2 separate regions of the Homo sapiens genome follow, and region 1 is linked to region 2. The links are contacts of gene promoters, found by promoter capture Hi-C in human tissues and cell types (Jung and others, 2019). All regions are on one chromosome and are shown on one strand. The core of a region is centred on a gene start or on the middle of the fragment in contact, and the rest is flanking DNA. Distances in the headings are between cores, read along the strand shown.

The links. Contacts are between HindIII fragments. The study calls those that stand out against the background at their distance.
Region 1: the fragment with the promoter of ATG4D here is called in contact with the fragment with the promoter of TYK2 in region 2 in 1 of the 25 tissues and cell types used here (adrenal gland).

Annotation. Positions count from the first base shown.
Region 1 is chr19:10,542,590-10,545,289 of GRCh38, reverse strand. ATG4D (autophagy related 4D cysteine peptidase) reads right to left here and starts at 1,386. Exons shown (of 10, transcript NM_032885.6): 1 at 965-1,386; 2 at 424-507; 3 at 160-333. The coding sequence starts at 1,199. RefSeq lists an enhancer at 400-995 and silencers at 1,041-1,220, 1,271-1,610, 1,621-1,670. The HindIII fragment of the contact is 15,918 bases long and covers 1-2,700 here.
Region 2 is chr19:10,379,254-10,381,953 of GRCh38, reverse strand. TYK2 (tyrosine kinase 2) reads left to right here and starts at 1,382. Exons shown (of 25, transcript NM_003331.5): 1 at 1,382-1,574; 2 at 2,175-2,339. RefSeq lists enhancers at 753-1,416, 1,325-1,484. The HindIII fragment of the contact is 20,387 bases long and covers 1-2,700 here.

The DNA of each region.
Region 1 (2,700 bases), core at 137-2,636, 160 kb before region 2:
CCGGCTGAAACTCTTATAAACAACTCTCATCTCTCCAAAACTTACTTGACACACAATTCTAACGTGACTTTGAACTCTTAGTTGGTAAGTAATTCTAATACTGCTGATATGGCAGTTGACCCTGTACTCCTAGTGCACCCCTTCCCCCCTATGGCTCACCTCTGGGCAGGAAATGCAGCAGAAGGCCCTGTGCCAGCATCATCTGGCCGCTGCGTAACATGCACCCCCAGCCACAGTCCGAGGTCAGGCAGCCCCCAGGAAGGGGCGGGAAGTCCCGGCGGTATGTGAGCCACAGGCGGGACACAAAGTCCCGCTGGAAACGCTGTATGTCACCTACAAGAGCGGGTCTGTCAGCTGCCACCAGGGACACTCCGGCGGGCGTGGAGAGGCCTCCCCCAGCCCTGGTCCCAACCACCAGCTCACCCTCGCCCTCGAAACGGTAGCGGCGGCCACAGAGGTGGATGCTGGAGATCTTGCTAAAGCTGGTCCGGCTTTTAACCACCCAACCTGGGGAGACGTAGGGGCAGCGCCCAGCGAGATGAAGCACTTGCATGACAGCAACAGCGCTTCCATTCCCCCATCTGTGAAATGGGCACGATCCTAGTTCCTATCTCCGGGGTGGCTCCGGGGATTCCGTCGGAGGTGGGGCCCCCAGTGACAGCTACAGGAGTGTCCACCATCAATTCAGGATGAAGGAAGGTAGTTCTGATTATTGTACCCATTTTACAGAGAGGGGCAAAAACGGAGGCGCCAGGAAGCAAAGGATCTTGCCCAAGGTCACACAGGGGAATGGGCGGGGCTTGAAAACACTATTGGACCTGCCACAGGTCCACCCTGGGCCGGGCAGGGAGGGGACCCACAGGTGACTCAGGACGGGAACAAGGGTGGGATAACTGGCAGGACCGGGGTCTGGTTTTCCTCAACGGCCCCCGACACCCCCACGATCTCCGGGCCCCCTCCTCACCGTACTTGACGTTGTTCCAGGCTGTCAGGAACTTGGCCTTGAACTTGTCCACTTCGTCCGGCTCACTCGGGCCAGCCCCGGGAGAGCCAAGAGCGGGGCCGCTGGCTCCGGAAGGCCCCAGGCCGTTGGGGTCTGGGCCTCTGGGACCCCGCGGCCTGCGGGCCTCGGGCCGGCGGCGCGCGTCCTCCGGGCTGCTGCTCCGGTACTGCGCGGCGGCCGGCGACACTGAGTTCATGGACGCGCCGGGAGGGCGGACCGAGGGCCCAGGTGGGGGGCTGCGGCCGCTGCCCCCCAAGGGCGACCCGCAGCCGGTTCACGGGGCCCGGGGAAGGCGCTACTCGGCCCCCGTCCCCAGGGTACCGGGCCAGGCAACAGCCGCCGCCGCTGCTACCGCAGCCATCGCCATCTTAGCGGGCCAGGACCCCGGATGACGGTGGGCGTGGCCAAGCCAGACGCCCCGCCCCGCCCTCTCCCCGCCCAGCCGCCTTTCCTGCCCCGATCCCGGGTCGCCAGGCGGGGACCTCAAACCCCGACGCCTTCCCGCGGCCTCCCCCCGCCCTCCTTATCACACCGCCAGGAGCGCGACAGCCCCTTCAGGCCCTTATCGGAGGCAGCAGAGCTGGGGAACCCCTGCCCCTGGCCCCGCCCCTAGTCCTGCCCCCCAGGGCCCAGGACTGACCTCCTGGCAGGCGCCCAGGTGAGACTGACTGCGCACCTGCAGCGCCCGCCCCGCCTCCCGAGTGCACCTGCGCGGGCTGCCGACCCAGAACCCGCCCTGGCCTGGGACCAAATCGACTAGTGTGACCTCCGGGGCAAGCCACGCCTCTCTGTGCCTCAGTTTCCTCATGTGCAAAATAGGGCTGGAATACACGCAACAACATAGACGAATCTTCATGAGAATTATGCTCAGGGAAAAAAAATCCAGGGGTAGGCAGGCGCGGGAGGGAGGGATGAATGAAGTGCTCCAGGAAAGTTTTTTTCAGTGTTTGTTTTGTCGAGACAGCATCTGGCTCTGTTGTCCAGACTGGAGTGCAGTGGCGCTTTCATAGCTCACTGCAGCCTCCAACTCTGATCCTCCAACCTCAGCCTCCAGAGTAGCTGAGACCGCAGACAGGAGCCACCATGCCTGGTTAATTTTTTAAATTTTATTTGTAGATAAGGGGTCTCGCTATGTTGTCTAGGCTGGTCTCAAACTCCTGGCTTCATGAGATCCTCCCGCCTCAGCCTCCCAAATGCTGGGATTACAGGCGTGAGCCACCACCTCAGGCAGGAAGACATTTTTTGGAGCTGTGGATAAATTCAGTATCTTAACTGTAATAGTGGCTTCACAGGTGTGAAAACTCATCAGATTGTACGCTTAAAATTTGCATGGTTTTGTATATGTCTATTATACCTCAATAAGGCTGAAAAAAAACCTCTTTGTTTTAAAAAGTAATCAGTTAACTTTTTATAGAGACAAGTTCTCTCTATGTTGCCCAGGCTGGCCTGAAACTCCTTAGCTCAAGTGATCCTCCTGCCTCAGCCTCCCAAGTAGCTGAGACTACAGGAAAATATTTTATTTTATTTTATTTTTTAATTTTTTTTCTCTAACCTTGCGAGGCCCAAACAGATTTTGGTTGTTGTTGTTGAGACAGGGTCTTGCTCTGTCATCCAGACTACAGTGCAGTGGCCTGATCATGGCTCACTGCAGTCTCAACTGCCGAGGCTTAAGCAAGTCTCCTGCCTCAGCCACCTGA
Region 2 (2,700 bases), core at 133-2,632:
GTGTCTTAGCTCACATCTGTAATCCCAGCACTTTGGAAAGCCAAGGCAGGATGATTGCTTGAGGCCAGAAGTTCAAGACCAGCCTGGGCAACATAGCCAGACCCCATCTCTACAAAAATTTAAAAATTAGCCACAAAATTTAAAAATTAACAACAAAAGGGCCGGGTGCGGTGGCTCACGCCTGTAATCCCAGCGCTTTGGGAGGGTGGATCACGAGGTCAGGAGTTCGAGACCAGCCTGGCCAAGATGGTGAAATCCCATCTCTACTAAAAATACAAAAATTAGCCGGGCGTGGTGGCGGGCGCCTGTTGTCCCAGCTACCCAGGAGGCTGAGGCAGGAGAATCGCTTGAATCCGGGAGTCTGAGGTTGCAGTGAGCCGAGATCGCAGCATTGCACTCCAGCCTGGGCGACAAGAGCGAAACTCCATCTTAAAAAAAAAAAAAAAAAAAAGTGGAAGATGAGGAAGTTGATCAGACATCAAGGATGAGCGGATGACTTAATAGGCTTCTTTGCTAAGACTTGGCTGGGCAGGTGAAAGACAAAGTCGAGGAGTGGTTATGGTGTGGCACAGAAGAAGGGTCAGAGGACGGTCTTTGTTACCTCTTCATGCCTGAGTTTCTTCCTCTGTGAAATGGGGATAATAAGAGCCGCCATACAGGGAATTGCTGCTAGGATCAAATGAGATAATGTATGTGAAACGCTCTGGCTGTAGGCTTCTCAGCAAATGGGCACGACTTGCGGAGTGGGGATTTGAATTCACGTCTGGCGGGATGTCCAAGCTGCTACCCTGACCGCTAGGGAGCTTCAGAGGACAGGGCTGCAGGTGATCAGGAAGAGGACTGGGGCAGGTGGGCGAGGAATGCCTCCCAGGAGTGAAGGAGGGGGAATTCTAGTCAGCAGGATGGAGTCGGCCAGGTAGAAACGAGGGAAAGGAGACAGGACCGGATGGAACGGGGAAGCCAAAGGGCAGGGCGTCGGAGGGTTGAATGGTGGCCGGTGCAGCTTTGAACACCGAGGTGAGGACATGCAGCTGTGTCCTAGGGTCAGGACCGTACACGCCTGACCCAATTCCACAGCACGGAGGGGAACTCCAGGATCCGGCCGCGTTGCCCACACACTTCGCTCTCCCTCCCGCCTCTCGCAAGCCCCTCCCCCGTCTCCGTCCACCGAGTGCCAGCCAATAGCAGAAGCGACAGCGCATCTGGGTGCCGACTCAGCCAATCGCGGCTGAGTGACGAATGAGCCCCAGGACCAATGAGAGTGCCGCCACCATGGCAAAAAAAAAAAAATCCAATGGTGACGAGCAGGGAGAACAGAGCAGCTGCCAATGGGCGTGTGCGTTTCAGGCGGCCAATGGGAGGAGGCGTCTCGGCGGGGGACAAGCAGTAGCTACCCGCGGGAGCGGGGAGGGGTCCGGGTTCGAGCTTGTGTTCCCCCGGAAGGGTGAGTCTGGACGCGGGCGCGGAAGGAGCGCGGCCGGAGGTCCTCAGGAAGAAGCCGCGGGGACTGGCTGCGCTTGACAGGCTGCACTTGGATGGGAGCACCTGGTGCCTCGGGACTGCTCCGATGCCCGGTGGGTGCACATCCCAGTTCCCGCCGTTGCCGGCCGGGTTTAGAGGTTTTGGGGGGAGGACATGGGGGCGTGCAGCCTTCCCAGTTGCAAACTTCACTCCGACCCTGTCTTCAAAGCTGGGTCTGGGTCCAGTGGGGACGAGAAAGGAGGAAGGAGGAAGTAGGCTCCGCGAAAGCCCCATCCCCGGGATCTCATCTATAACATGAATAGGTATTAATGGCAAAGGCTAATTAAGCGCTTACTGTATACCAGGCACTTTCTCTGCCTCCTCGCGTTAAATCCTCCCAGCAGCCTTTTGAGGTAGACACTGTTACATGCCCATTTTCCAGATGAGGAAACCAGCAACATGGGTGGAAGTGACAGCCCCTCCACTTCCATACTGGCGCCCTCAGGAGGCTCAGGCCCTGGATTGGGGGGATGGAGCTGGACATAAACTCTCCTAGGCTTTGGGGAGTCAACAGGGACTGAGGTCACTCATGGGGGTAAATGTGGGAGAGGAGAATTGTGGCCTGAAAGAGGCCATCACCACGATGAAACTAATAACAATTATGTTATTCTTGTTTTGGTCATATTTGTTCTTTTTGTGTGTGCCTGAATCAGGGTCTGTGCTGAATGTGTAATATGCGGAACTATATTGAAACATTACAACCATCTTTTGATGGCAACACCCTGAGGACCTCCCTTTTCCAGATGGGGAAACTGAGGCCCAGAATTGCTAAGTGGCTTGCTTGAGTTGACACAGGGAGCTCCAGGACTCACCCTCAGGTATGTTTGACCACATCTGCCTGTCTGGTTATTTTGGGGAGGTGTGTTAAGAGCAGATTTTTATTTTACTTTTTATTTATTTATTTATTTATTTATTTATTTATTTATTGTATTTTAGTAGAGATGGGGTTTCACCATGTTGGTCAAGATGGTCTCAATCTCCAGACCTCGTGATCTGTCCGCCTTGGCCTCCCAAAGTGCTGGGATTACAGTCATGAGCCACCGCGCCTGGCCCTTTTTATATATTTTTATTACTTATTTATTTATTTATTTATTTATATTTTTAGAGTCAGGGTCTCACTCTGTCACCCAGGCTGGAATGCAGTGGTGCGATCACTGCTCACTGCAGCCTCCAACTCCT